Regions from separate parts of the Homo sapiens genome. Here region 2 is linked to region 1. Evidence: promoter capture Hi-C in human tissues and cell types (Jung and others, 2019). All regions are on one chromosome and are shown on one strand. The core of a region is centred on a gene start or on the middle of the fragment in contact, and the rest is flanking DNA. Distances in the headings are between cores, read along the strand shown. Region 1 holds the start of THUMPD2 (THUMP domain 2 tRNA and snRNA guanosine methyltransferase). Region 2 overlaps MAP4K3-DT (MAP4K3 divergent transcript).

Evidence for each region. The method cuts DNA at HindIII sites, captures the fragments that hold promoters and counts their contacts. A contact is called where the count stands out against the background at its distance.
Region 2: a contact is called between a fragment that was not itself captured here and the fragment with the promoter of THUMPD2 in region 1, in 1 of the 25 tissues and cell types used here (hippocampus).

The regions. Positions count from the first base shown.
Region 1 is chr2:39,776,667-39,781,931 of GRCh38, reverse strand. It overlaps THUMPD2 (THUMP domain 2 tRNA and snRNA guanosine methyltransferase), which reads left to right and starts at 2,674. Exons shown (of 10, transcript NM_025264.5): 1 at 2,674-2,818. The coding sequence starts at 2,693. The HindIII fragment of the contact is 6,344 bases long and covers 1-5,265 here.
Region 2 is chr2:39,515,449-39,520,713 of GRCh38, reverse strand. It overlaps MAP4K3-DT (MAP4K3 divergent transcript), which reads right to left. Exons shown (of 6, transcript NR_037875.1): 4 at 4,173-4,300; 5 at 2,004-2,131. Among named protein-coding and RNA genes, the nearest start is that of MAP4K3-DT, 81 kb to the right of the region's middle. RefSeq lists enhancers at 3,302-3,894, 3,895-4,486, 4,487-5,079 and a silencer at 5,168-5,265. The HindIII fragment of the contact is 5,186 bases long and covers 1-4,669 here.

The sequences.
Region 1 (5,265 bases), core at 1,425-3,924:
ACATTTGAGAGGCCACCACAGGCAAGCCAGTGTTCTCGCTACAGATGCCCAGATGAAGTCATCCCATCCTCAAGGATTTCACAATCTATAGCACTTGCATTTTAATATATAAGTATATACATCATACACCTTTAAGAACTAAAAGAATTGCCAGTGGCACCAAAATAGGGAGCTATCTCAAAGCAAATATTCTTGTCCTAAATTCTTAAAACACCTCCACTTAAAAGTCTGTCCATTCTAAAATTGTTCCTGCCGACTTCCAATTTCCTACATGTTGAAATATGTAATATTCGAACAGTAAATTGCAGCTGGATATGCTAAATTTGTCTATAGGGATCCATAGTTTTCAGAAGAGACTTTTTTAAAGAAGAAGAGATGATGGAGAAAAGAGTACCTGAGTAATGGGGGAGAGAATTCCAGGCAACTCTCTTACCAGAAAACGAAACTAATTTCTCCCTAAAGAGGCAGAACTCCCCCATTCCATCGCACTGCAAGCATTTTGTGAAGGGCATTGGTACAGCTGACATACTGCAGCACAGTTCAAAAGGAACAAATGCACATGACTCCCACATATGAAACAAGAGTAGCCCCGACCTTGCTGACCAAAGGCTCCTGGAGGGGAAAAGACATCAGAAGAAAGAGGAGAAAGTAAGGGGAAGATCGATTGGCTCTGCAAAACTGCAGCCTCAGCTCAGCTGTGGTTTCACCCAGGCCAGCACACTGCTGGTCGGTGCTGGACTGAATAGGTCATTTCATTTTTTCAGCTGCCTTTGGTTGTACTGACATAACTGGGCCCCTACCCACCGCTCTACCGCATCTCTATCTACTCCACTCATATACTTTATGCTCTAATAACACTTAACCGCTATCGTGGCTTTCCTGTTCCCCACCCCCCACACGCCGTCTCATTTTCATCTGCTGCTTCTCCCTCTTACACATCCTTCATGCTGGACTCAAGAGCGATTTTGTCCAGGAAGCCCTCCCTGCCTCCTTTTTGTCGGTGCTGTCATAGCTTCCCGGGTATGTCCTCAGTGAGTCATTCAACTTCACCATCCTCTAAGCCCTTGAAGTCCAAACCCTTGCTTACCCATCTTTGAATCCTCAAGACAGGGTGGTGACTGGCGGAGAATAGGTGTTCAGTATTTGTTGAACTGAATGGAATGCATCCTATCTGCATACTTAACATCTTGGGCACAGAATGTAGAGAGAACTAAAGAGGGTTCCTGTCCTCCCCAGACAGACTTGACAGTCAGAACCCCAAAGTATAGAGAAGTTAAAATGAACTACGGCAGTAGCCCAGAAAAGGAAAACATGTGTCTGAGGGCAAGAAAAGAATTCATCAAAACGGTAGTGTGTGAGGGCTGGGTGCCTGTAATCCCAGCACTTTGGGAGGCCGAGGCAGGCGGATCGCTTGATCTCAGGAGTTCGAGACCAGCCTGGCCAACATGGTGAAACCCCTTCTCTACAAAAAATACAAAAATTAGCCCGGTGTGGTGGGGCTTGCCTGTGGTCCCAGCTACTGGACAGGCTGAGGTGGGAGGATTACTGGAGCTCAGGAGGTGGAGGCTGCAGTGAGCCAAGATCACGTCACTGCGCTCCAGCCTGGGCGACAGAGGGAGACCCTGTCGCAAAAAATAAAAAATAAAAAGCAGCATCAGAAGAGTCTTAGGACTGAACCTTGGAAAAGCTCATGTTATGTGACTCCATGAAGAATTTTTACTGTACGGCCCAGTAGAGCATGAGCTGGGTGGGGGCGGGGGTGTGTGTGGGAGTGTCGGGGGAGGTGAGGGAGTATCAGTTCTTCACCTTAACATCCCATTCTGAAGCACAGGACAGCCCCTTGTCAGAGACACACATGCATTTATCATTTCTGTATAACTGACTCAATATACAGCTACAGAGCTAATTTCACGCTGTTTATCTTGTAACATGGATTCTGTCTATGCTTCCCAAGTAATATTTTCATTTCCATTTTAAAATTCAGAGTTTAGAAAAATGCCTTCAAATACCGTTAGGAGAACCATTCAAATCAGGTGCCCAAAACTAGATGGCACATTGATTCATCTATGGCTGGATGGTTAACTAAGTAGTGCAAGAAATATGAGCTGTTTCAGAACGCAGACGTTTGTTAGAGAACAGGAACTTCTGCTCTCCGTCCTGGAGATTCCAACGTTTGGCCCGATTCTTTGTGAAAACAGACCAGGGCTCCTTCTATGAGAAGAGTAGAGGAGAGGAATGAAGGACAGGAAGAGGACGGAGTTGGGAGGAATGGAGGAAAAGGCATTATGTTAGATAGGGAGAAATCTAGGCTCCAGCCTCAGCTGTGCTGCTAACTCGCTGTCTCTTGACCTCTCTGGGCATTAATTTCCTCAATCTACAAAATAAGGCAACTGGACTGAATTATCAATTCTAACCCTTCCACCTGTGATTCTAACCCATTCTGGTGCCTAATCAAGGAGGGGACAGATGGTCAACCAGGAAGACCCATAGGGGCCACAGAGGGCTGATGCGACCCTCCCAGGCTCTCCGTCTCTCTCACCCTCTCCTTCCCCCTCCCTCTCCCCCTCCCCCTCTCCCTCTCCCTCTCCCTCTCCCCTTTGGCATCACACGCCCCTGCGCGCCGCCTCCAGGAGCGAGCCGCTCGCGCCCGAGGCCACGTGACCCGAAGGCGCGAGGGCGCGCCTGAGCCGCCATGTCGGAGGCGCGTGGAGAGCCAGGGTCCGGGCCTGAGGCTGGCGCCCGATTCTTCTGCACTGCGGGTCGCGGCCTGGAGCCGTTCGTAATGCGAGAGGTGCGGGCGCGGCTGGCGGCCACGCAGGTGAGTTGGCCTCGCTGCGCGCCTGGGGAGGTGGGCGGCCCTGTCCCTGCCCTGTTGCCCACCCCAGTCGTGGACGCGGGAAAGCGTCGCTGGCGCCCCTCTCTGTTCCACGCGACGGTCGCCGACCCCCGAGGTTGACTGGCAGGCGCTTCCGCTCCGGCCGAGAGAAGCCACCATTCCTTTCTTTCCTTGTATAGCAAATCCAGTTCCTCACTTCTCAGGGCTCAAGTTTTTAAGAGAGGTGTTGAGGCAAGTTATTTCCTGGATTCTTTAAAGTAGTAAGTAGTGCCTGTAATTAGAATCTGGCCTGTCAGAGTTAGAACCCTTCGCTCTTTAAATGCAAACATAATCTCCAAGTTCAGTTACCTGACTTTTTGTTAGTTTCTTGACAGTGATTGTATTTGACTACATAGGATTGTTGTGAGAATTAAATTATATAGCGTATGCAAAGTACACTTTAAACACGCAGTAAATAGCAGCCAGAAAAATAATATACTCTTGCAGGCCTCATAGTTATCTGTTATTGATTTCTGTGAAATGAACAAGGTTTTAAGCATCGGTTTAGGTTTTAGAATGTTGAAAACTGGTTTCTTGAAAGTAGGGGATGAAGGTATAATAGAAAAGGTATCTTGATGGGGTGTATGGGACACTGTGAGTGATGTACTCTTGGAAAAGGAGAGCTTCCTAAATGAAATTAACCCCTCCACCCTGGCAGCTCCTACAGTGTGGGAAGCCCACAAAAGGAGTTTCTGCAGTGAAAGGTTGGAGTCGTGAAGAATTATGTCAGTTTTGTTAGACTACCTGCCACTTGTGTTTTGGGTCACAGAATTTAATAGAGTATTGAATGTAGCTAATCTTAAAAAGCATCAATATATAATAACTACTGACATTTATTGAACATTTAATATGTGTCAGGCACATGTTCTTAGATCTTTACCCTATATTTATTTGCGTACTTTTCACAACAGCCCTATAAGGTAGGTGTTCCACATTTAACAGATGAGAAAAATGAAGCACAGGTAAGTCCGAGAATTTATTCAAGTCATGCAACTAGAAAATCGCAAAGATGGGATTCAAACCCGAGCTGGGAAATCAAGAATGAGTATATAATCATGTTCAAACCAGGCCCACTATATGACCATGACATAGGGGTGCGCTGGCTTGTTTTTTTAAATGCTAACTTAGAGTGCTTGGTATGAAAGAGAGAGAGAGCTTGGCCCAATTAATATGTAGGATTATTAGAAAAAGGAAAGACTCTCTGCTTGTTCTCCATCTTCTCTAAAGACAAATGAAATGGGGAAAACTTTATTACCAGGAAGAAAATTCAATTAAATACAGGGAAAACTTTTTGACAGTGGGAGTAATTAAATGCCAGTAGATTTGGGAATTTCCATATTCTGCTCTTGTATGTTTGAAAGATAGATAGGTCTGGAAATGGGATCTGAACAAATAATCTCTGAAATTCCACCCAAGTTGCTCTGATACAAAGTGAACTCTCAAAGTTAAGGCAATCCTGAAATAACAGTGATGACAACTAACATTTATTAAACACTTAAAATGTTAGACAAGTTATGTGCATGTTATGATTTAATCCTCAAAAGACTCCTATCTGATAGACTTTTACCTCCATATTTTACCAAAAAAAGAGAAAATTGGGACTTGTCTCTGAGTCTCTCTAGCTTTAAAGCCCATGTGCTTTACCACTAGGCTAAATTACCATGGGAATCTTCCCTGGAACATTGGATGTAGTTTATTTCTGTAACACCACGGTAGAGTACGTATGGTCTTTAGAATCAAAAGACCTGTGTGCAGATCTTATATATTCCTTTAGTGGATTTGTAACTTTGGGCAAATTACTCAAATTTCTGAGCCTCAATTTTCTTGGATGTAAAATAGAGATGATAGCTACTTTAAAGGATTACTGCAGTCCCTGAAATAAAGATAGCACAGGTAGCATGCTGCCTAACAAATAGTTGGTGCTCAATTTTAGTTCCCATACAATGAGTTGTACAGGAATACTTAAAACATTCTTTCAATGATAAGAGAGTGTTAGAAACTTTGGATCGCATCAAGGAAATTAACACTCTAAAATGTAAATTTACAAAACAGATTAATTCAAGAATGATTGTTTAAGAAAGTAATCACTTCATTTTAATGTGTTTTTCCAATTTTCATGAACATAAGAATCACTGAGGAAGCTTGTTGAAAATGAGTATTTCTGGGTGCCAGCCCCAAAAGGTTTTCTTTTAGTAGGGTGGCTGATAAGCCCAGGTGCTACCATTTTAACATGAAAACATGCTCCCCTCTCAGAGAACTCCCAACACACAGTTTGCAGTGGAAAATTTCCTGTGTATTCTTTTTAGCTTTTTATCATGGAGAATTTCAAAAATATACAAAAGTAAACAAAATAGTATGCCGAATCCAGCCTGGTATAGTGGCTCATGCCT
Region 2 (5,265 bases), core at 827-3,326, 260 kb after region 1:
AGTTAATAGTATTATACTAACGTTAAGTTTCTTAGTTTTGAAAATTATACTATAGTTATACAGATATTAAAACTGGGGAACTTGAGGAAGGCAATATATGGGAATACTCTGTACTAGTTTTGCAACTTTTCTATCAATTTAAAATTAGTTTCAAGTTAAAAGTAAATAAATGTATGTACATAGATATAAATATAGATAGGTATATGCATATATTTCCATTTTTATGAGATCAGTGCTACTTAAAGTGTGTTCCACAAACCTTTTATTACCAATCATAGACAAGCTAAAGCTAAATATAGAAAATGGAAGCAAGCATTTAGAAACTTTATAACAATTTGACATTTCTGAAATATTTAAGCATATGATTCTTTTCCTAGAAGTTCATTTTTATCACATTTTTTTAAAGCATCAGTCTGTATTAGGATTCTCCAGAGAAACAGAGCCAACAGGATATGTGTGTGTGTGTATATGTATAGATAGGGATTTATTTTAAGGAATTGGCTCATGTAATTGTGGAACCAAAATCCAAAGAAATCGGATGGGGTAGACCAGCAGGCTGGAGATTCAGGGAAGAGATGCAGAGTTCAAAGGCAGACTACTGATAGAATTCCTTCTTGCTCAGAGGAGGTCAGTCTCTGTTCTCTTAAGGCCTTCAACTGATTAGATGAGGCCCATCCACATTATGAATCATAATCAGCTTTACTCAAAGTCTACTGATTTAAACATGAATCTCATCCAAAAACCACCTTCACAGAAATATCCAGAATAACATTTGACCAAATATCTGGGCACTGTAGTCCAGATAAGTTGGTGCATAAAATTAACCATCATGTAGTCCATGACAGATTAAAAAATTAAAAAGAAAAAAAAAAGTCCTGCATTGGAGATATTTTGAGAAGCTTTGTGTCATATAACTTTTAATAGTCTACCAAATGGTTGTATTAATTTAAAAATTTAGACTAAGATTGCTTATTTCATATGGGAACAGGGAAAAATCCTGGGAGCAGTGTCCTGGCTGGTGTGGGGAGAGGAGGATCTAACCACTTTCTAATTCTGACCAATGAGCCTGAACCATTAAAATCTACCTTTGTATTGCTCTAATTCAGAGTTCCCAAACTGTCTCATGTCACAGCATTTTGTATCCCTGTAATTTTTTCACAGAGTCCCTAGGCAAAAAGAAATACCTACCCAAAATTCCATTTATCCAGTAGTTAAGTCCCAACAACTTAGTTGTTTGAAAAAAATTATACACATAAATCGAAAGAAAAAAATTTATTTCATTCTTAAATACTCAGTTACTTTTAAAAGGATGTGTGTGCCCAAGGTCAAGAGATTGAGACCATCCTGGCCAACATAGTGAAACCCCGTCTCTACTAAAAATACAAAAATTAGCTGGGCATGGTGGCGTGCACCCGTAGTCCCAGCTACTTGGGAGGCTGAGGCAGGAGAATTGCTTGAACCCAGGAGGTGGAGGTTGCAGTGAGCTGAGATCGCGCCACTCTACTCCAACCTGGCAACAGAGTGAGACTCCATCCAAAAAAAAGAAAAAGGGATGTGTATGCCAATTGGGCACCAAATATCTTCCCAAATCTTGGAACCCATGTGGACACAAGCACCTTCACCTCCTATTCCACACTGATTTTCTCTGGGTACTTGCATTTTACAACAACTGCTGAAAACTCAGCTTCCCAAAGACAGGACATTTTTGGAAGAAATGTAGCGCAATCTAATGTTGGAACAATGAACTACCTTGAGCTAATAGTTCAGTTGATATCCAACAGATGTCAAGTGCCACTATACTTCCTTGATATTTAAACTATGCCACAGCCCCCCTCTAAGTTTGCTGCAAAGTCTTGGGTGCCTAGGACACAGTTTGGGAGTCATGACTCTATTCTTTTCCCATTTTTAATTCCATTTTCTCTTGTGCAAAATAAAAGCATGTTCTTTAAGTATCTAGTAACTACCTCTGTTAAACCTAAGGTTATGTAGAATATAACACTTACTGTTATGTCATAACTCTGAGCTTTCACTGCTAGCAATCACAAGGTTGTGTATTCTCTTTTCATTCTTTATCTGCGGTGAATATAGTAGACGAGATGACCTCCAGTGGCCAGGTATCTCAAACATATGCCTAAGAGAGCACAATAAAATATTTTGCTTTGTGTTATATTTAAACCAGAATACAGTTCTTAACTATGTTACTTTTTAACAGATAATTAGATCAAGACTGAAAGAAGCACAAAAATACGTGTAATTTGGTATACTTCTTACTAATGGTTAACCATTTTCAATCGTGTCTTAATCTAATACTGATTTTTCTGACCAATTATATTTATTTCACTCACGCTAAATTCTTATAATTGTAGCCAAAAGTCCCATAGATCATAAAAGTGACTCTGACAACAATTCTTTGGGGCTTACACACAACTTGAAATCAAAAGCCTTTGTTTTCTTCCTCTGGGTCAATATCTTCTCATCATAACTGTTGTCATCATCATCAGAATATGAACTATTTATCTTGTTTGGCCAGTGTCAATAGTTGGAGAAATTACTTCTCTCTGTCTCATATTTCTAGCTTTCTCCTGTTTGATTTTCCATAGGCAGAGGAAAGGAGAAAGAGAAAATCTCTCACATCCCCTGCAAGATTGTTCCTTCCTAACAAGAAAAGACTCCCTCCCCCGACCTTTCTGAAGCTTCTTTTATCTACTATTTACTAGCAGCTACATACATTGATACAACCTGTCTCTGATATTAAGCTCCTGTCTTGTAATGGAGACCATATTGCCTTTCCAGAGATAAATCCAAGCTTATCAAAACACTTTTGAAAACCTCTTTCATAATAAACAGAACACAATTTCAGATAGTAGCACAGAGTGACTTCGCACCTTAGGACAGAGGTCTGATGCCAGAATGCTGTACAGTGGTGCCCTACCCACGATCTCATTTTCACCAGCCTGAGGCTGAACCTCTCCCTTCTTTCTTGCTGGGGTTTTCTATAAATCAGTTGTCAACAAATATATTGGATTCTTTACACTTTGATCTACTTAACATTTTGAAACAGGTATTCACTCAACTCCAAGTTCCTTTCCAATTACCTGGTGGGGTTTGGTGGGGAGCAGTTAGCTGGATACCTGTTTGAAGCAGGTGTCCCAGAAGCCACCTTGCTGTGCATAGACATCAGCTGGCATACAGCCTTCAGTAAGAAGGCTGATGGAAGGTACGCAGTAAAAATTAAAAGCCTAGGAAAAGTACAGGCCCCAGAGCCAGAGCAGAGCAGAGCAGTTGAGTGATGGTTCCTTCTGAGAGCAGGGTGGGAACAATTTCTTGCCCTGCTCCTGGGGATGAAAGTAAAGTCTAAACTTTTTTGCAACAGTGACTAATTCCCCATCAGAGAGCCTCCTGCGATTGCAGAGCTAATTTCATGAGTGGTAAATGAAGGGTCTCTCAAAGTGAGAGCTGACAGAGGAAGAAACAGAGAAAAACTAAAAGCAAATCCCTAAACATTACCCACATTGCAAAACAGAAGGGAATTTTCAGAAGCAATGATAGAGAACGGCCCACCTCCAGATCTCCCTCAGACATGTTTTCTTCCTTCCTGACTCATTGAGTTTCTTTAGGAAAGCCTGGTGAGAAGGGATTATGAAGCAGGCAAGGGAGCCAGCCTTTTCTGGCAACACAGGGCATTTTGATTTCAGAATCTGCAAATCTTCAAGAACAGACCCGGTGTGCACTAGTGTTCTAGGCTGGAGTCCAGCAGCAGTTCAGCTGCAGATGAAGCAAATCAGCTGGTTGGTGCTGACAGCCAGAGACCCAAGGACTTTCCTGGTGCTACACCTCTCTGGAAGTTTGAAGATGTTGGGACAGGTTTGCCTTCTGAAATGTGCAAATGTCACCAGCCGGGAGTGGCAGATGCCAGGAGGCATCTGCAAACAGATCTCCATCTGGCCATGGGCTAGGCTTCCTGGGACACAGATTAGAATAGTTTGAAACAAAGGGGCGGAAGCACCGGCTAAGCTTTTCACATATTGTTATGGTCTCTGGGTCACTTCCTGCCTTTGGAATTTATTTCCTTTCCAGGTTCAGCAAAATTCAATGAATGACAAGAAAGAGTTTGGGGTTTGTCTTTGCCTCTGGCCCAGTCGAGGGGCGGCTCTGCCTCTGTGAACTTGTACCTCTGCAGTGGTTGCATTCTCCCGCGCTGTTTGTTCACACTGAGCCCAGCATGGGGGAAGCTTCAGGATGCAACAATAAATAAGGGAAGGGAGCCATCTCCAGTTGAGTCAGATAAATCCTCTTCTTCCTAGAAAACAGAAAAGGAAAGAATAGATTGGGAAGGGCAAAAATGATGTTTTATCAAGGAGAGCTCTTTCTCACCAGCTCCCCATTCAGAGATGTAACCAGCTTTGAAGGTAGGAGGCCGAACGTGGCTCCATGCAGTCGCACCTCCCACCTCCTGGAGTCAGCCAGTAGGCCAGATAGGTACACAGGACAGTGACATTTGCTACACAACAATGATCTGCTTTGTTTTCTTTTACCAGTATTTAATTTGCACTTTGTTCCAACAGGGACTTCAGGTAGCAATAACTGCCTTTCTGACAGCATTTTCACGCTCATTTTGGGCACTTTGAAGCTGACATGAATGCATATCGCAAAATCCTTCTGCAACCCCCGGCAATCCCTGTACATCCACTGCAGTTCTGCAGTGCAGAGACCCCCAGAGGCCAAGGCAGACCCTTTTGCCCCAACAGCTGCAGGACCCTATCAAAACTTAATGTGGTCCCTGCTGCCCCTGTCATTTCTTTGAGAAAGAGTGTGTCTCTCTGAATAGTGATCCACCGTCATGAATAAGTTCCTTCTGAAAGCCGGCTCATACAGCCCTTGTCAGGAAGAATCTCGCAGAGCCTGTCCACATATCCAGAGTCCATCTCTCTCTAGACTGAGAGGTCAGGGTTCATAGCTTTAGAGGAAGGGTAATTTTTGCCCCCACCTTTAGTCTAAACACAGCTAAACTAGCAGCAAACGCTATTGTAAATACAGAGGAAGTTGCAACTAGTGATCAGCCTTTCTCCTGGTGCCACTCAATCTCCCAGAAATAAGAACTAAAGCTTCCCCTCCATCAGTTTAAACAATCTCTTTGCTCGAGGCTGCAGATGCCACCACTGTTGGGAGCTAGCAGTGACAGGGCTGCTGCCTTGGGTTATCACTGTGGCTCAGGCGTCAATCAAATTGACCTTTTCAAATTGCACCAACACATCTCGCATTCAC